Regions from separate parts of the Homo sapiens genome. Here region 2 is linked to region 1. The links are contacts of gene promoters, found by promoter capture Hi-C in blood cells and fetal thymus (Javierre and others, 2016). All regions are on one chromosome and are shown on one strand. Each heading gives the region's core, a stretch centred on a gene start or on the middle of the fragment in contact. The rest is flanking DNA. Distances are from core to core; before and after follow the strand shown.

Evidence for each region. Contacts are between HindIII fragments. The CHiCAGO score rates a contact against its expected background, and 5 or more counts as called.
Region 2: a contact is called between a fragment that was not itself captured here and the fragment with the promoter of OPTC in region 1, in 1 of 17 cell types (M2 macrophages). The highest score is 5.0, in M2 macrophages.

The regions. Positions count from the first base shown.
Region 1 is chr1:203,491,175-203,496,869 of GRCh38, reverse strand. OPTC (opticin) reads right to left here and starts at 2,717. Exons shown (of 8, transcript NM_014359.4): 1 at 2,653-2,717; 2 at 634-905. The coding sequence starts at 864. It overlaps PRELP (proline and arginine rich end leucine rich repeat protein), which reads right to left. Exons shown (of 3, transcript NM_002725.4): 3 at 5,518-5,695. RefSeq lists a silencer at 2,996-3,224 and an enhancer at 4,612-5,410. The HindIII fragment of the contact is 16,129 bases long and covers 1-5,695 here.
Region 2 is chr1:203,277,568-203,283,166 of GRCh38, reverse strand. No RefSeq gene overlaps it. Among named protein-coding and RNA genes, the nearest start is that of LINC01353, 6.8 kb to the left of the region's middle. The HindIII fragment of the contact is 386 bases long and covers 1,874-2,259 here.

The DNA of each region.
Region 1 (5,695 bases), core at 1,468-3,967:
TGTGGAGGAGGAGGAGGGAAGGATAGCAGAAAGACTGTGCAAAAAGGGGACCTGACAGAGCATCAGGTCCAGCATGTCCATCCTATGGATGAAGAAACTGGGGCCCAGAGAGGAGAGGGATGAGGATCAAAGAGCCAGCAGGTGGTCAAGGCAGAGACGAAACCTGCTCTCCCGATTTCCCAGGCCGGCACTCTTCCCCTGCTCCACACCGACCAGGCTCACGCACAATTGAGTAGGGGCTTCTGGGCTTGCACCCCACGCTGCTGCAGTGAAGGCCAAGAGGACCTGGGAAAGAACTTCAGACTGGAGGACAGTTTCAGAAAAGAGATGGGGGATGTGGCACTTTTATTTCCTAGAGAATATGATGAGGACATTGCGAACCCCTCCCCCAGTGAGACATAGCTTTGGCAGGGGGAGGCAAGTATGAGTTTTGAAGAAGGAGAAGTCCCAGGTTTGTGTCCTGTTTCTTAGTATCATCTAAGTGACAAGTCCCTATGGAGGGATAAGAATTTCCACCTCACAGAGAAAGAGGTGGAGGCTGGAGACACCCGCACTTTGGGGCAGATGGGAGGGCCCTGGCCTCTGACTCCCAGTGTCATGCAGGGAATGTAGTTGGTCTGCTGTGTCCCTCACCTCGGGGAGTTGGTCCCCATAATCTGTGAGCTCCTCATAGTTGCTCAGGTCAATGACTTCACCATAGTTGTCTGGGTTCAGGACATCATTCCGCAGAGGCAGAACTTCAAAGGAATCGCCTTCCCTGGGCATCTGCTCCTCTCTCCTCTTCCTCTCCTTCCTTGGGAGAGAAGCTGTCCCTGTCTCCTGCAGCACCAAGGCCAGCAGACTCAGGAAAGCCAGGAGCCTCATGGGGAGTCAGATGGGACTGAGAATCCCTTCAGCGGCTGGTCCTGGCAAGTGGGCACGAGGAAGGGCAGCGATCTGAGGGACAGGCTCTCCAGAGTGTTGTGGGAATGGCTCGCAGATTTACTCCACTTCCCACCCCCACACTTGCAGACTCAGTGCTCTCATCACATGCACAAATTCCCTACCAGCTGGGACTATGTCTTGGGGGGTATCTCCTAGCAGCCCCCTCCCTCCACCGCCCCACTTGAGTGTTTTTACACGCTCACCCAAACACTGATATTCACTCACAGAGGCATGTGCAGACACATCTCAACACAGACACATTCACAAGAGTCCCCTTGTTTACAAACGAGGCACACACTGGTGCATGCACACAGATGTCCTCTCTTAAACAACCCCATGCTCAGAACATGACTGCTAGTCACTAAGCTCGATTTAGAGAATGTCAACATCAAATAATCTTATGGGGTCTTTTTGTTTGTTTGTTTTTTTGAGACGAAGTTTCATTCTTGTTTCCCGGGCTGGAGTGCAGTGGTGCGATCTTGGCTCACTGCAACCTCCGCCTTCTGGGTTCAAGCGAATCTCCTGCCTCAGCCTCCTGAGTAGCTGGGATTACAGGCACCCACCATGCCTGGCTAATTTTTGTATTTTTAGTAGAGAAGGGGTTTCACCATATTGGCCAGGCTGGTGTCGAACTCCTGACCTTAGGTGATCCACCCACCCTGGCTTCCCAAAGTGCTGGAATTACAGGTGTGAGCCACCGCGCCCAGTTGACTCTTGTGGTTTTTTATAAAGATCATCCATTCATGCATTTGCTCAACAAACATTTATGGGTGTCTATTGAGTTCCAGGCACAGGACTTGTCTCTGTGGGTACAGAATGAATGAGGCACAGCCCTTCCTAGGAGCACCTAGTCTCTTTAGGAGACATGGACTTACAATGAAACATACAATGTAAAAAAGAATGTTAGTTTATGAAATATACTTCTAAATGCAGCTTTTTAGAAACAGATTATTACAGATAAAAGAGTTCTTTGTGTGTGATTGCATGAGTGTGTACGCATCTGGAAATTTCCTTAGATACCTGTGTATATTTGTGTGTGTGTGCACACAGATGCCTGCGTATGTATGTGATATGCATGTGAGTACAAATGTTCATGTAGTTCGTATATGTATAGACGGGTCAGGAAATGCATGTGGTGTGGTTTTGTATCCAGGCATAAGTGTATACAACAGTCATACCCAGTGTAGGCTTAACACAGCCCTCCCCAAAGCTAGCTGCACAAGTTTCTAGTAGACTCTCCCTCTTTCTTTCTTTTAAAATTTTTTTTATCTTTTAATTTTTATTTTATTTTCTATTTTTAAGACGGTGTCACTCTGTTGCCCAGCCTGGAGTGTTATGGCATGATCTCAGCTCACTGAAGCCTTAACCTCCTGGGCTCAGGCAGTCCTCCTGCCTCAGCCTCCCAAGTAGCTGGGACTACAGGCGTGTGTTACCATGCCCAGTTAACCTCCCCACCCTTTCTTAATTTTAGCTGGGCAAGGGGGCAAGCCTCTAGCAGTAGCAAGAGGTGTTTCTTCACCTTACCTCCCATACCTCACCCCAAACGAATTACATAATCTCAAAAAAAATTTTTCTAAGAGAGTTTAGTGCCCACCCAAAAGTCTTGTCCAACTTCTTTGGCCAGAGGCCTAAACTCTCTTCATTTTCCCTTCCCAATCCCCTGCCCCAGCCAAACACTTTGCCCTCATTTGCGCACCGATGGCCAGAGGCCTCAACCTTGAGCCTTACCCCTTCAATGCTTCTGGATCCTGGATGGAGAGCCCTGCAGCTTCCAGAAAGGTGGGGACTCTGGTGGAGGCTGTCTGAACTGGGGCTTGGGTTAGACAGTGGTGCCCGGGGGAGGGCAAGGAGTTGGCCAGGCCTGCGACCAATCAGACTTCTCATTCCTTCTGATGTCCAGCTGTTTCCCCTCCTCTTTCCTCAGGGGGTCCCCTGCCCCATTCCTGTATTTGACAAAAGAGAATTCTCCCCCCACCTTCCGCTTCACCCCCCACCTCCAGCTCCTGCTCTCTCTCCTCTTACTCTGTCAGCTCCTTCTTTCTTTTCCTTGTCCACTCTCCTGATAAGGCCACATCTTTGAGGAACAGGGAGTGCCATCCCCTGCAAGGAAGGGGCCCCATCCCTCAGATTCTGAGTCCTCAGAGAAGGCTGGAGTCGGGGGATATGGAGAGATAGAGCTTGTCTTTGCAGCTTCTTTCTCCAGCCAGAGAGTGACAAGGCTTCAGCTTCATAGCCAGAATCCAAAGATAAAAATAGGTGGAAATGAGGCACTTCACCCTCACCTAGAGCGCCAGCACAGAGACCATAATTGAATAAAATCACCAGAGACAGGAGCTGCAGGCCTAGGTAGTTCAAAGAGAAGGTGTATGGGGGATGAGATCGGATTTGAAAGCCAACTTCAAGTTCACAGATGATGATCATGAGGATACGGGAAATTCTCTAAATCTGCTAGGAGGAAACCAAATGGAAATTGGGAGGTGGGCCCTAGAAAGGATCATAAACACCAGTAGACATTGTGTAGGGTCTCGGGGGCCTGGGAAGTATCCTCTCCCGCACCCTCAGAGATGTACAGTCGTCCCTCAGTAACCATGGGGGATTGGTTCTGCACGTCCAGTGGATACCAAATCCACATATGCTGAGGTCTTTTATATAAAATGGTGAATTTGCACATAACCTACGCACATCCTCCTGTGTACTTCAAATCATCTCTAGATTACCTATAACACCAAACACAATGCTTACACCTCACTCCATTCACATGGATTCCACATAGTACTGGCACACAGCAAATTCAAGTTTTCCTTTTTGGAACGTTGTGAATTTTTTTTTTTTCTGAATATTTTCAATCTGTGGTTGGTTGAATCCACGGATGTGGAACCCACAGATACAGAGGGCCAACGGCATTCATCTGGAAACACTCCCCTTTCCTTGGTGCCTCGAGCAGGCTGCCGAGCAAGTCCTTGCTGAAGGCAGAGGTGGGGTGGCTAAGGAGTCTTCCCCAGCTTCTGCCAGCCTGTGCCCTGGCGCCCACCCAGGTTTCTCAGTGACTCTCCTTGTTCCCTACTCCTTTCCACCAACCAGATACTGAATTCCAGCTGTGAGGCCCCCTAAAGATCTAGTCCAAGTCCTTGTGGTATAGATGAGGAGAGTGAGGCCCAAAGAGGTGACGTGACTTGCCCTAGGTCACACAGAGCCAGGGCCAATGCCTAGATTTTTTGACTCCCTGGTCAGAGAGTTTTCTTTAGTTCATATGACCCTCCCCATTTCCACCTTCTTCCCCAGGAGTCCTGAATCCGTGTGTTTCCAGGCCCTCAGAGCAGATGGCTTGGCAGAACTCATCTCTGCCCTGGCACACCAGGTGAAGAGGCAGATCTAATAGCCTGGCCCTCGAGGGCAGCATTTGGCTTGCTGTGTTCCTGGGCTCCAGCTGGTGCAAGAGGGGGCTTCCCTCAGCCCAAGAGCCTGGTCACCAGAGAAGAGCATGTTCTTGTACCCCTGGCAGCCCCCCACCTGGGAAAAGACACCATCAGAGGCTCTGCTGGGTGGAGGGAAAGATAGCCCTGGATCCTGGAGGGCATCCAGTAGGCAGATGGCACATTTGGCGGGCTGTATGCCTCCATCTTCTCTCCACAGCCTGGGCTTTGCAGCCAGAGGCCCTCCACCCCCACAGCCAGCCTAGGCAATCTCCCCGCTCCCACCCCACACATTTATTCCTGGGAGAAATGCAAATGCGAGTGTTCATTCACTCTCCCTGCCGCCTGCTCCCACTCTCCCTCCCTGCTTTCCCAGAGACATACGCTCCTGCCATCCCTGCTTGGTTGCCACACCCCCACCATCGTTCCTCCCCAATGCATACACACCTGCTCCCCCCACTCCCTGCAGGAGCCACATCCAGACTCAGGCTCGCATCCTAGACCCTCTCCCAACTTCTCCTCTTGCTTTCCCAAGCTCACAGGTCACACACTCTTGTTCTCATGAATATTAGGGGCTGTCCATGGATGTGTACATGTGACCTGGTGGGGGAAACGGCTAACCCCGCAGACTGCTGTTCCAGGCAGCCCAGCTCCCCAAGAGCCTGGCAAAGGAAGCAGGAGGCGGGGGAGGCGTCCTAATCCTAATCTCTCATTAGGAGAGGCAAAAGGCGTGTTGATGAATCGGAGGCGGCAGGTGGTATGGACAGAAGTTTGACCAGCCAACCCTGTTGTTGCCCTTTTCATGGATAGGGAGAGAGAGGCGGGGAAGTTCAGGAACCCTCCTGTGTTTTGGATGACAGGGGTATATCCCCTGCTGAGGGCTTGTAGCCACATAACTCCACTCCATGACCGGAACATGACCCTCTCCTCTTTTTCAGACACACAAGCCCCACAGGGTAGACTCCACACCTTCCTACCTTTGTACTCATGCTGTTTCCTGTCCAGGTGGCGTCTTTTTTTCTTTCATCCACCTGGCAAAATCTGATTTATCCCTTAAGAGCCAGCTCACATGGTAGGAGTCTTTCTGGTTTTCCTCAGGTAGAGGTAAAAGCCCTTTCCTTTATACTGTTCATACACAGTAGTTTCACTCGTGTCTGTGTGAAGCGACCACCAAACAGGCTTTGTGTGAGCAACAAGGCTGTTTATTTCACCTGGGTGCAGGCGGGCTGAGTCCGAAAAGAGTCAGCGAAGGGAGATAGGGATGGGGCCATTTTATAAGATGTGGGTAGGTAATGGAAAATTACAGTCAAAGGGGGTTGTTCTCTGGTGGCCAGGGGTGGGGGTTGCAAGGTGTTCAG
Region 2 (5,599 bases), core at 817-3,316, 210 kb after region 1:
CCTGCCTCCCCATGGACTAGTCCAGGAGTTTCTCTGCAACTGAGCACTCTCATCACACTGGGGCCTGTCAATGTTTAATGGCAGCAAGGATCTTATCTCGGTTACCCAAGTCGTTTAGATTACTCCTGTGCAGGGTACCTGGAGCATGAGGGAAGGCAGCAGATGGCAGACCCGTCAGTCACCCCTCTGCTCTCTGGAGGGAGGAGGGATTATTGGAGCAGAAAGGGCGAGAGGGTGGGAGAAACAGAGGGTGGCAGGGAGACACACTGTAACAGGACAGAACGCCTCACTGCACGCTTGCATGGCCCTGGCTGTGTTCTCCACCTTCCCTATTCTCAGCCACCTCCCATAGGGGCAGCCCACTGCACATACTCCCAAGGCCCTCCTGGGAGACCCAAAACACAGGGGAGTGAGTGGTTGAATTTCTGTGGAGCTTGACCACAGTAAGTGACCTTTGAGCCCACTCTGGTGTTCCCCCTGGGCATCAGAATCTCTGCTTATTTTCAGGGAGAAAACACAGCACTACTTGTCTCTCTTATGAACTGTTGAAAACTCTAACCTCGGGTGCTCCAGAGACATGAGTGTGTTGCAAAGGTCACACAAACCATACCTTCAGTACAACCTCACGGATTCGTAGATATGTGAGCTGGGTCATGGGGGCAGGGTCCTGGGTCCTGGCTCTAGAGTACCCTGAGAGGGAGAGACAGGTTCTCGCTGCTCCCCCAGGCCCAGGGAATGCCTGGATCAGATAGTCGAGTTCTATTTGGGGAGTAGAACGTCACAGTTCAAACACAGAACCAGAGGCCACTCTGATGTTATTTACAGACCTTGTCTAAAGATCTAGCCTCCAAGCTGGGAGGGAGGGCAGTGGGCTTGCTGCCTTCTCCAATTTCTCCTGCTCTCTGAATTTCTTATATCCTGTCACCATCCCTCACCCTCCTACCTTGTCTCCATCCAGGAGCACCCTGTGCTGCGGTATCTGATGTGTCACTCACAGCTAGGAGCCTGGAAAGAGTGTTCTTAGGACAGAGGGAGGGGATTGGGAGCAGGACAGAGGACCCACCACCAGTGCCAGAGGACCCAGAGAGGTTCCTAGACATGGGGCTAGAGAACTGGGAGTGGGAGAGGGGCAAGGAGGGTCCAGGAAGGCCTCATTGGGTTGGGTGAACATTTCCCTGCCCCGAGTTCTGGGGCTTTCTGCCTGATGGGAGTTACAGTGAAAAACAGCAGGATGCTTTTCTAGGAAGACTTTGGCAGGTTGGGGGTGGGGGCGGTAACGGTGATTTCATAATTATTTCACTCCTAGTGAAATATTTATTTCACTATTAATTATGAAATAGGAATAATTTCATAATTATTTCACAAAAACTTAATGAGCAGCTACCATGCTCTAAAGTACTGGCAAATGAAGGTGAATAAGACAGGGTCTGTGCTGTCAGCAAATGTTCAGTTTATCTGGAGAAACAAGACGGATGCTTCCTGAGTAGTGAGGACTACAGGAACGTGCCACCCCATGCCCCACTAATTTTTTATTTTATTTTATTTTATTATGTGTAGAGACGGGATCTCCCTATGATTCCCTGTCTAGTCTCGAACTCCTGGGCTCAAGTGATTCTCTCCTGCCTTAGCCTCCCAACATGCTGGGATTACAGGCGTGAGCTACCATGCCCAGCGAAGAGCATTGCTTTCTTGGAAAACCAAGGCCAAGGAGGATGGCATTGATTTTTTTCCCTAGGAAGGCCCTGTGGGAATCCCAAGAAAACTGGACAAAAGGCAGCTAGCAGCCATTTAGCTGTGGGTCATCTTCACCTGCCACTCCTTCTTCCAAGGGTGGAGGCCCAATGCCCATCCTCTCCAGAGAAAAGGACAAGCTTGAAGTTCCCAGCCAAGCCCTCTACTGGAGGCAGCTGGGCTGGGCTGGAAGGAGGGGAAAATCCAGTCTGAGGCAGAAGCATGCTTTGGGGTTCTGCCTCCTGAGTCAGTTCTGGCTGCCCAGGGGCAAGGAGGAGTGGCCGAGCCCCACCCAGATCTCTGGGATGCTACATTTTCGTATTTTACATCAGTATAAGCTCTCATCTTCACAGTCTCGGGGCACCAAGTTCTTGTAAACAGAGGGAAATGTACTCTAGCAAAACTTCCCAGATCTGATCTACTTATTCAACAAAGTATTTACTGAGTACTCATTCATGCCAGACTGTTCTACATGCTAGGGATACAGCAACAAACACAAAAGGCAAAAATCCCTGCTCCCTTGAAGCTTATATTCTACCAGGGAAGACAGACGGTAAATAAGGAAATACCTAAAATAGTAATGATATTTACTATTGATAAATATTAATGATATTTACTAATGATAAATACTATCATAAAGGCTAACGTGAAATAATCCAGCAGCAAAGTGGGATAGAAGGTACCAATAGTGAGGCCAGGCGCAATGGCTCATGCCTGTAAGAAGCACTTTGGAAGGCCAAGGCAGGTGGATTGCTTGAGGTCAGGTGTTCAAGACAAGACTGACCAACATGATGAAACCCCGTCTCTACTAAAAATACAAAAATTACCTGGGCATGATGGCACATGCCTGTAGTCCAAGCTACTCAGGGACTACTCAACTCAGGGGAATCGTTGAACCTGGGAGGTGGAGGCTGCAGTGAGCTGAGTTCCCACCACTGCACTCCAGCCTGGGCAACAGGAGCAAGACGCCATCTCAAAAAAAAAAAAAAAAAAAAAAAGAATGTGCCAACAGCGAGCATATCATTGAAAGTTTAAATTGGACAGCCAGGGAGGGCCTCATGGAGAAGGCAGCCTTTGAGGGAGGCATGAGGATTCTGAAGGAATAGAATTCCAAGCTGAGGAAATGGCACGTAGAAGGGCACTGGGCAGAGTGGCGTGCAGCTGGAGCCAGGAGAGCAGGGGAGAAAGTGAAGAGGTGGAGTCAGTGGTGGTGGGCGACACCATCCTAAAGGGCCTCGTAGGCCATGATGAGAATGATGAGGACCTGGGCTTTTCCTCTAGTGAGAAGGAGAGGCCAAGGAGAATTTTGGCAGAGGAGTCAGATGATGTGACATATTTTTAAGAGACTGCTTCTGAAAGCTGTGCTGGAAATAAGTGAGGGCTGGGTGTCAGTGAGAAATGGTGGTGGTTTGGATTGGGTTGTTGGCAGTTGGAAGGTAAGAAGAGACTGGACATTTTAAAAGAGGAATCTACAGGGTTTGCTGACAAAATGTGGGTTGTGAGAAAAACCCATGTGTGCCAGGCACCATGGGAATATGTAATGTCGTTAAAATTTTACGTTAATCACGTAAGCAAGGTTCTATTTTTTTTTTTTTTTTTTTTTTGAGACGGAGTCTCGCTCTGCTCTGTTGCCCAGGCTGGAGTACAGTGACACAATCTCGGCTTACTGCAACCTCCGCCTCCCAGGTTCACGCCATTCTTCTGCCTCAACCTCCCGAGTAGCTGGGACTACAGGTGCCGCCACCACGACCGGCTAATTTTTTGTATTTTTAGTAGAGACGGGGATTCACCGTGTTAGCCAGGATGGTCTCGATCTCCTGACCTCATGATCTGCCGGCCTTGGCCTCCCGAAGTGCTGGGATTCCAGGCGTGAGCCACTGTGCCCGGCCTTTGCAAGGTTCTATTGTTATAGGCCACTTTATAGACGTGGAATCGCTTAGAGAGGCCAGGTGACTGGAAAAATCACATAGCTAGCAAGAGGCAGAGCTCTGGCATTTATTTATTTATTTTTGTTTTTTGTTTTGTTTTGTTTTCTAATTCCAGGTTAAGTTCACATAGAGCTGGTATTTAAACCAAATCTTCCACTGAACACAGACCTTGAACTCTTAGCAGCTATACTGTACAAATCTCATCCATTCATTCAACAATTCTCCATTGCTCATCAGCTCTGCTTCAGGCACTGGTCTACATGTTGAGGACGCACAGATGAGTAAGAGAAAGTCCTTGACTTTGAGGAATTTATGGTTTGGAGGCGGAGACAGAGGTAAATAGAAATAACAACAGCGACATAACCATGCAAAGTCCTAAGCTCTCAGAGGAGAGGTGAGAAAAGACCCCTCAGAGGAGGTGACGTGTGGGCAGATGATGAGTAGGGCTTTGCCAGAAGAATAGGAATGGATGGAAAAGCATTCCTGGCAGACGGAGCTGTGTGTGCAAAGGCCAGGAAGCCCCCAAGAAGGGCAAGCACTGGTGCAGTGTTTTGCTGTGGGAGTAGCGCAAGGAGGCCTGGGAGGCGAGATGAGACAGAGAAGTGAGCGGGGCAGTCAGGAACGCCTGGAAAGGGCTTCCCCAGGCTAGGGGCAGTCGTTGCAGTTACCAAGGGGGTGTGGAGCGAATCAGATCTCTCCTTATGTGGAGGGCGGACACCAGGCAGCAGACACAGTTTTCCCTATTTCAGTATGATGCTCCCTGGGAAATCTGGTAGGACTGAGAGAACAGTCCATGTTTCCAGGAAACAAACAGTACTCTGTCCCTGCGTGCATGTCTCTCTGTGTGTCTGTCTATAAATATCCTCAGACGCAGCACTTGGCTGCAGTCTCCCCCGAGCCCCCGCGGCATCTTGCTCACACTCCCCAGCTGCCTCCACCCCTCCTCCTCTCTCCTGGCCAAGACCGGCCCCGGCAAACACCAGTTTCACTGCGCAGCAGGCAAGGCTGGGTGGGGGCCAGGACTGTGACCTCTGCCTTATCATTATTCCCTGTAGGACACCAAAGCAAGTGTCCAAACAGCAGCAGGAAGGGTGAGAATTTGGCTCAAAGAGGAAATCTGGAGACTGTTAAACCCAAGCTGAGCATGAACTGATGCCCAAGTGGGGCGGGAAGGGGAAGTTTGTTTCAAAACCTAACCCACATCCAATGGTTCACAGACCATCTTGGTCAAAGGCTGTGAATGGATGAGATGGTGACCCTTGTCCCATCCAGCTCTGTGATCCTTCAGATCAGATTGGTCGGGGGAGAGACAGCAACAGAGAAAGACAGAATATATATACCTATATGTATTTGTACACACACACATAGAGACAAAGACAGACACAGGAAACAGGCAGAGACAGAGGGAGGCAGAGGCAGATAGACAGTCAGAGACAGAGATGGGGCCACCAAGTATGGGTTCAAACCATGACAACTTTTTTTCTTTTTCTCGAGACAGAGTCTCACTGTCGCCTAGGCTGGAGTGCAGTGACGCGATCTTCGCTCACTGCAACCTCCACCTCCCAGGTTCAAGTGATTCTCCTGCCTCAGCCTCCTGAGTAGCTGGGATTACAGGCACACGCCACCGTGCCTGGCTAATTTTTGTATTTTTAGTAGAGATGGGGTTTCACCATGTTGGCCAGGCTGGTCTTGAACTCCTGACCTCAGGTGATCCACCCACCTTGGCGAGCCATGACAATTTTCAAAGACACAGCAAGGGCAGGCCTATGAGAAATGTTACACAGGATTAATGTGATACATATCAGAGTCCAGCTCAGTTCCCCTTCCAGATTTCCAGCTCAGAAATTTATACCCCTGTCTCCCCTTTTCTTGTCAGCCCTGGAAAAAAGCAAAAAGAAAACCAAAAACAAAGTAACACAAAAACCCAGAGGGACAAGGAA